2 separate regions of the Homo sapiens genome follow, and region 1 is linked to region 2. The links are contacts of gene promoters, found by promoter capture Hi-C in blood cells and fetal thymus (Javierre and others, 2016). All regions are on one chromosome and are shown on one strand. Each heading gives the region's core, a stretch centred on a gene start or on the middle of the fragment in contact. The rest is flanking DNA. Distances are from core to core; before and after follow the strand shown. Region 1 has its middle 190 kb from the start of LYSMD4. Region 2 holds the start of LRRK1 (leucine rich repeat kinase 1).

Evidence for each region. The method cuts DNA at HindIII sites, captures the fragments that hold promoters and counts their contacts. A CHiCAGO score of 5 or more calls a contact.
Region 1: a contact is called between a fragment that was not itself captured here and the fragment with the promoter of LRRK1 in region 2, in 1 of 17 cell types (naive B cells). The highest score is 6.7, in naive B cells.

What each region holds. Positions count from the first base shown.
Region 1 is chr15:99,917,685-99,921,590 of GRCh38, reverse strand. No RefSeq gene overlaps it. Among named protein-coding and RNA genes, the nearest start is that of LYSMD4, 190 kb to the right of the region's middle. The HindIII fragment of the contact is 1,679 bases long and covers 1,398-3,076 here.
Region 2 is chr15:100,916,802-100,921,007 of GRCh38, reverse strand. It overlaps LRRK1 (leucine rich repeat kinase 1), which reads right to left and starts at 1,651. Exons shown (of 34, transcript NM_024652.6): 1 at 1,557-1,651. ALDH1A3-AS1 (ALDH1A3 antisense RNA 1) reads left to right here and starts at 1,725. Exons shown (of 2, transcript NR_135827.1): 1 at 1,725-2,204. RefSeq lists enhancers at 23-82, 609-1,200, 2,375-2,494, 2,545-2,634, 2,387-2,979 and silencers at 1,415-2,004, 2,765-2,984. The HindIII fragment of the contact is 4,524 bases long and covers 1-3,923 here.

The DNA of each region.
Region 1 (3,906 bases), core at 988-3,487, 1.0 Mb after region 2:
ACATCTGGCTTCTTCCTTCACTGACATTTCTTTAACACTTTCACGGTTCATCCATGTTTTAGCATGTATCAATACTTCACATCTTTTTAAGGCTAAATAATATTCCATTGTATGGATTTATCACATTTTGTTAATATATTCATCAGTCAAAGGACATTTGGGTTGTTTCTGTTTTGGCTATTGCGAAGAATGCCACCATGAAGATTCACGTACACATTTTTGTGTGAACATATGTTTTCAGTTCTCTTGGATGTATGCCTAGTAGTGGAATTGCTGGATCATACGGTAACCGGACATCTAACTTTTTGAGGAACTGCCAGGCTGTTTTCCACAGCTGCTGCACAATTTTCCATTCCCACCCACAAATGTATAAGGGTTCCAATTTCTTCACATCCTTGTTGATACTTGTTATTATTTTTTATTATAGCCATACTAGTGAGTGTGAAGTGGTACCTCACTGTAGTTTTGATTTGCAGTTCCCTAATGACTAGTGATACTGAATATATTTTCATGTGCTTATTGGTAATTTCTATGTCTTCTTTGTAGAAATGCCTATTCCATTTCTTTCTCCATTTTTAATTGGAGTTGTCTTTTTATTATTAAGTTGTATGAATTCTTTGAATTCTTTATATGTTCTAGAAACTAGACACTTATCAGATATATGACTTGCAATATTTTCTTCCAGTATGTGGTCTGTCTTTTGACTTTGATAGTGTTATTTGATGCACAATTTTTTTAATTTTGATGAAGTTCAGCTTATCTGTTTTTTCTTTGATTGCTTGTGCTTTTGGTGTCATATCCACAAAGCTGTTGCCTAATCCAAGATTACAAATTTTCAAACCTATGTTTTCTTCTGATTTTTATAATTTTAACTTTTATATTGAGATCTTTGAGTTAATTTTTAGTATGTGGTATGTGTTAGAGATGAACATTTATAATTTGTAAAAAAAAGACTATTCTTTCATCTGTTTAATGGTCTTAGAATTCTTGTAAAAAATCCATTGACACCTTCAATGTGAGGACTTTTTTTGACTGTCAGTTCTAGTCCACTGATATATATGGTTATTCTCGTGCCAATTTTGATTACTGTTGCTTTGTAGTAAGTTTTGAATTAGAGAACTGTGCATCCTCCAACCTTGTTTCCAGGATTGTTTGGGCTATTCTGGGCTCCTTTAATCCCATATGAATTATAAGATCAACTTGTCTATATTTGAAAAATATGCAGATGGAATTGTCTCTTTCGTTCTTGATTTTAGTAATTTGAATCTTTCTTTTCCTTTGGCAGTCTAGTTAAAGGTTTGTCAAATTTTTTTTATCATTTCAAAGAACCAACTTTGGTTTCATTAATTTTCTCTATCATTCTTCTGTTCTCTATATTTTTCACCCTGCTCTAAGCTTTATTATTTCCAGGCAGTTTGTGATAAGGCAGAAAGGGTAAAGAATAATTCTGGGCTAGGGGAATGATATGAGCTAAGCCATAGATATGTGAAAGGGCATGACAATTACAGCAAATGATAAGCAGCTCTGTGTAATAGCCCCCAGAGCTGGGGGTGGGGGCAGATACAACTAAACTGTATTTTAGCAAGATCATTCCAGCAATGTGAGAAAATGGGAGAAAGGGAGGCTAGAAAGGAAACAAGAAGTGGTGCTGGACAGCTTGATGTGTTGTTAAGGATGAGGAAGAAGGAATGGATGTGATGGGGATTAAGAGGTCCACTTGGAAGCGTCTGTGGGCCATTGACCATGAGGAGAGGGAGGAGTATAGGACGGTGTGGGGCTGGTGTTGGGGCCATAGGCTATATCAAGGGAGTGTGAGTGGGAAGATAAAGGGTTCTGTTTGGGGAAGGTTGTGTGTCAATGTGTCTTGAGGCATGTGGACAGAAATGTCCAGAAACAGTGGGAGAGACAGGTTGGGAACACAGGCAGAAGTCAAGGATGTGGGGCAGGTTTGAGGGCCATTGGTGAGTGGGCAGAAAGGATGTGACCCACCCCACGGAAAAGGTCAAGGATGAAAGAGAACCTACAACATCTCTGGTAACACCAGGGTTAGAGGCTGAAACACAAGACCAGGAGTCAGCAAACAAGATGAAGGGGCCAGCCAGAAAGTGGCAGTCAGTGCTGTGAAAACACCAGCAGTGCACGGTGGCACCTCAGAAGCCCTTGGGAGGGACCGAAGATGGGACAAGGCCAGCAGGGCTGAGAGTCCCAAAGAGGTCAAGTAAGGTGTGGCTGCCCATGTCCACTGGACTTGGCAGTCAGTGAGCCATCAGCCACTCACCCAATGACAGTGCAGGAGGCAGAAGCTCAAGTGGAGTGGGCCGAGGAGCTGAGGCAGGCAAGGAAGTAGGAGGGCAAGTGTTCCCCACCTTCCCAGGAGTTTGACAGGACCACAAGGAGAGGGCGAAAGTGGCCAATCAGCTGAAGGTCTGAATAGAACATAAAGGCTGATCTCCCATGAGTAAGAGGGAACGCCTCCTGCCTGACTGCCTTCAAGCTGGGACATTTGTCACCCTCTCCAAGCCCCCCAACCTTTGGACTCAAACTTAAGCATTAGCTGTTCCTGGGTCTTGGGTCTGCTGGCTTCAGACTGGAACCGCGTCACCGGCTCTCCTGGGTCTCCAGCTGGCCAACTGCAGATCTTGGGACTTGTCAGCCTCCACAGTCACAGGAGCCAATTATTTATTATATGAATCTCCTATTGGTTCTGTTTCACTGAAAGACCTGACTAATGCAAGGGGCACTGGGGGTGGTAATGGACACCTTTCTTCAGGCTGAAAGAAAGGACTATATGGAGGCCTACGAATTGATTGAGCAGGAAGAACAGGGGGTGAAGGAGCTCAACAGAAGGTTCATTGCTCCAAGTGGTGGGGCCTTTTACTGATCCAGTTACAGGGCCTGCATCCTCATCCATTCCATCCTCACCACGGGTCAGCAGAGCCATATGGTTGAGGAGTCTCTCCCCTGCGGTTTATACACAATATGGTTTGGTTTCCTCCAGCATCTACCTCTTAACTGCAGAACCCCCCTTTCCCACTGGGCAGCAGCTCCCTAAGTCCTTATTAGGGAGCCATAAGCTTTCGACTTCTTTTGGTTACTGCTTGTAGGAGTTAGGATTCCATCCCGTTCACTGGTTAAATCTTCACTCTCAAGCTCCATTTGAAACTCATCTCCCCTTCCCATGCCAGCCAGAGCCACAGTCTTGGAGCTGGAGAGGAGGCTGAGCTTTGATCCTGCGCTGGCCTTGCCCTTTCTTGCGGGCTTCCCCTTCTGGTGCCCAGGGTGGGGGTAGGGGAGACGTCTGCAGGGGGCTGCTTCTAAGCAATGCTGGTGACCTCTACCGCTGCCGTCTCCCATAGGTGGGGTCGGGCTTTCGAGAGGCAGAGTTCAGTGTCACGCCAACCTTTCCATTGCTAAGAACCAGCCCTCCCAAGTTCCCCTTCAGCCTGGTCAGACATTGAGACCCTGTCTCAGCTGTCCAGGTGGGTGCCCATCACTCAACTTGACTTCTGCCTGACAGAGAGGCTCTGTCCCTCTGCCAATCCTATTCCTTCGTGCAGAGCTCTTCTGCAGGCTCCGAGGGCTTTGGAGAACTGGGACGGGGTGTCGGGGGTCCCCCTTTCCTTCCCAGATATGCCATGCCCACATCCCTCATATTCACCATGGAACCCTCCTTCTTTCCTCAGTCACATTGCTGGGGGAGGGAAGTGTCTGCAAAGAGCAATGAATGGGGGTGCAAGTGACGGCAGTGTCACAGCAATGCAAGGAGTGCCCCTGGGAAAGAACCAGAGGGCAGCCAGGGACGCTGGCTCTGTTGGAGGGAGGCATCTGGGCTGGTCTTTCCGAGGCAAAGGGTTTGCATGGGTGGTGGCCCCAGCAGTAAAGCAGTGCCTCTGTAATGGGGCACCC
Region 2 (4,206 bases), core at 402-2,901:
CCAGGGAAGACTTTCTGAGGCTGTGTGAAGAGTCAGGAGGCAGCAGTGCAGGGGACCAGTGCTGGACAGCAAGCTCAGCCAGTGTGGCCTGGGGCAATGGCCTGGTGGTCCGAGACAGCAGAGGCTGGATCAGCTGGGGGTGTGAGGAGAAGGAGGTCTCCTGGATTGCGTGCCAGTTGCAAGGAGAAGCTACTGAAGGACTCCATAAAGAGGACTGATATGGTCTGATTTACCCATTTAAACACACAGACACACACAGACGCACGCTGCTATATAGAGAATGGAGGAAGGGGGAACTGAAATCCTACAGTAAAGAGATGCTGGTACCCTGGACAAGGGGCAGGGTGGGGGGTGGGGGCATAAGAAAAAGGGGACAGATCAGGACACATTTTAGACATAGATTCAACAGACTGAATGTTTTTTATCTGAGGATCCGAGTTGACTGCGAGGTCACTGCCAGAGACATCGACTTTTGGGAGAGGGAAAGGTTTGGCTGACCGCAAAACCTCCTTTAGGAACAAATTAGGTGTGAGGTTAGTTTGTTATATTATTTTCTCTTTCAGGACATAGGCAAAGATGAAGAGAATCAAATCATAAAAGGCGTTTAATGTTAACATTTTCCAAAATTGTGCATGTTCTAGCTATCCCTTTAATGTCTGGGCATTTTGATACCCTGTGAGTGGCTGGCAAACTCTATCATTAGTGTACACGGTGAGAGGTTTGCTGAAAGCTATATGCCCCCGTTTCTCTACCTGTTGCAGGGGAAGTGTTCGTGGGAGAAAAACTTCGCGGCCTCATACTGTGAAGGGGTAGGTTGAGATGGCCACGGGGGTTCTCAGATTCTCCACCAGCGTCTCCTCGCTGACCCCGGCCTTCCTAGGCTTCCTTCCCGCGTCCCTGCCTGCCAGGAAGGTCCCCTGTAGCTTGCAGAGACCATGGTAGACAGAGCAGTTGTATCTGCGCCAGCCAGAGACCACCTGGGCAAGAAGCGTGACCCAGACATCGAGGAGGGTGAAGCCTCGCTGGGCCGCCCCGCAACCCCAGGAAGCCCCGGACCAGCGAGAGGCTCCCGGGCGGTCTCTTGCCGACACCCCGGCACGGGCTCACCCGCGCGCTCACACTCCGCCCGCTCCCCGCTAAGGGACTGGGTTCGCTCCAAAGGCAGAGGAAACCTATGGGCTCCCCGGCTCGTGTCTCCCGACTCGTGTCTCTTGCCTCCGCTTCCCAGCTTTCCCGACCCTGCCCGGACGGGGTTTCGGGGTTCCCTGCTCGGGCCCCGCGCGCTCCCCTCCCACAGGCTGGCTGGGCTCCGGGCGCGGCGGGAGGCAGCGGGGACGTGAGACCGGGGTCGCCCCACACGCCCTCCGCGCCCCTCGGGCCGCGGCCCCTGCGCAACGGCCCCCCGTGCCCGACCACGCGGCCGCCCGGAGCGCAGGGGCCCGCGGGCAGGCAGAGGCCGAGGCTCCCCGCGGGCGCCGGGCGCGGGCTCTGGGTTCCCCGGGCGGGGCCGGGAGGCAGCCAGGCCGCCGGGGGGCGCCGGCAGGAGCGGCGCTTACCTGAGGCGGCGGCGGGGCCGGGTGCGGGCGCTCCGGGACGCGGGGCCGGGCGGACACACTGGCGGGGCCGGGGCCTGGCCGTCCCACCGCCGTCTGCCCCCCGCGCCGGGGCCGGGCCCAGACGCACTTCCTCAATCCTGAGGCGGGCGGGCGGGGAGGGCGGCGCGAAGAGCGCGCAGAGCAAGGCCGCCGCCAGCTCTCCCAGGAACCGTCGCGAGGCGTCCCCTCGGCGGCCGCCTCAGTTTCCCTGGCCGTAAAACGCGGGCGATGGCGCTCGATGCCCCGGGAGACGCCGGGGTCCGCGGGCCCTTCCGGCACCGGGTCCTCCTTCAGGTTCGGGCACCCGGCTGCCTCCACGCGGGGCGAGCGCGGCGATGGGATCGGTCCGTGCTGCGCTCAGCCCCGCTTTCGCTATCCCTCTGCTCCAGGGGCAGCAAAATCAGCAGATGAGCCCCCAGCGCGCCTGCGGCCCACACACTGCGGCCGTAACAGTTAAACAGACGGGGAACATTCATGTGCGTAGAGCTCTTCACGGGGCGATACAGAAATGTGTCGTTCTAAAGCGTTAACGACCTGCAATTTGCATATCCTCCAACACATGGATTTTACTGATTCAATTATGGATGTGTGCAAAGAATCTGCTGCTCGGTGAGTCATTGTTAATTGTCGGCTTTGGGGGGAATACATAAAACGTGGAATATTGGCAATTTATCGTGTTTCGACCTTTTATAAAGGCGTCACCAGGCTGCTGAGGCTAATACAGAAACGCAGACCATAAAAAAGATCTGCGTCCACGCTGCAGGCGGGCCTCACGCTGAGCTCCCCGTGTCGACCCGGGGACAAAGCCTGCTCAGGAAGAGCAGAGGGTTCCACGCCCTGCAGGACCAGCGCCCTGGGCCCCTCTCCTGGAAAGTTATGACTCGCACGTTCCCAGGATTTAGCGCACATCTCCCCCACCCTCACTGCCATTTCACAGAACCGGGGCAGCCGCAGGGCTCCTGCAGGACCTCCCGGACGCCGCGGGGCCGTGTTCCCTTGAGCGGCTTCTTGGGTCCCTGGTTGGAGAGGGGACCACCGAGCAGCTTCGCTCTGCTCCTGGGAGGCTACTTCTGCCACTGGACGACTTTCCAAAAGGGTGAGCGCAGTTCTGCAATCCTGTTCTCACCCCTGAGGGCCTCACACCAGTTTGCAGGAGCCAGCAGTGTGATTGCCACCGACAAGTTCCCAACAATTTGCAGGGCGTGGTGTCCTCAGTGCTGAGAGAGCCCCGCGACGGCGGTGCAGCTCCTCCAGGGCGCGCAGCCCCGCCACCTGGCGCCACCGCGAGGGAGCGCAGGCCCAGGGCCCGGGCAGACGCTGGAGGGGACGCGGCAGGTGAAGATGGGGCACCTCCACTTCCCTTCTAAAGGAGCCTGGGAATAGGCTAGGAAATGTCCCCACTGTAGAAGACAGCAGGAACATCTGACACGCGGATAACCTGTGCTGAGCTCGTTATATTCCCAGCATTTAATTCTAGCCATTAGGCATGCGTTAGCCACAACTTCGCATAGGAAGGTTATTGCAGGTAAGTTAAGACTCCTTTCCACTTCTTCCTAAGGGTCGCTGACCCATGGTTCTCTAGCTTTTGCTGGTAATCCCACCCAGATTCTCAGCACCCTAGGTTGGAATGACCCCTCCTGAGGTGGGTGGGGTAGCTGGGAGGCACCTCCCTGAACTGACTTTTCTGCCTTTTTGAAGGTGCAGTGGCTGAGCGCTCCTTCAGTGTTTTCCGGTTGTCTTTCTTCAGCCCAGTACGCAGTTTCCTCAGACAGTCTTCCTTGAGCAACTTCCTAAACGCCCTTCATTATCCCCCTTCAAGCTCATGCCTAGGAGCAAGGAGCAAAGCCATTAGAAAGGCTTCATCCACCAGCAGGAGAAGCTAGGACATCCCAAAGGGTCCACTTCTAGAGAGGTGCCAACCCCCACACGCACACCAGGCACACAAATGCATGTGTGCACACGCATACCACACCCTCCAATTGTCCCCAGAATGGCTCCCTTCAGGGAGTCATGTTCCGGGACACCAAATGAGGGAAAATATCCTTCTCCTACAGTTTCCTGCTCACATTTGGATTGAGAAATGGGATGTCTCTAAATAATGTGTCTAAATTCTCTTAACATAAGTGCATATGTTACGAGAGATCTGATCCCAGCCTCCCTTTTTTGTTAAAGTGGTGGTGCTTTGCCACCCATGTCAAAATGATCTGGGCTTTCCACATCAAATGCAAGGGATGAGCTTGGAGGACATACCCCAGTACCAGCAATGATCTTGAGCCAATGGCAGCGTCAGCTCACAACGGGGTGATTGAGGCTTCTTGGTTAGAAGCTTTAGAAACTTGAGGTCAGTAAAACCCAAATTGATCCTTTCTCTAGATCCTCTAGATTTCTCTAGAGGAAAAGGTGACAAAAACAGACACTTGTGCTCACCGTCAGGGGCACAATGCTGTCCGTCAATCCTCATGCAGTCCTCCCCACCATTTCGCACACTGACACCATCACTACTTTATGATAAAAGGAGACTCAGGCAGCTTAGATAACAGCTGAAACTCAGCCAGCTATGACATGGAACCTCTGAGGCCCAGCTCCTTGCCTGGTCAACCCCCAAGCCCAC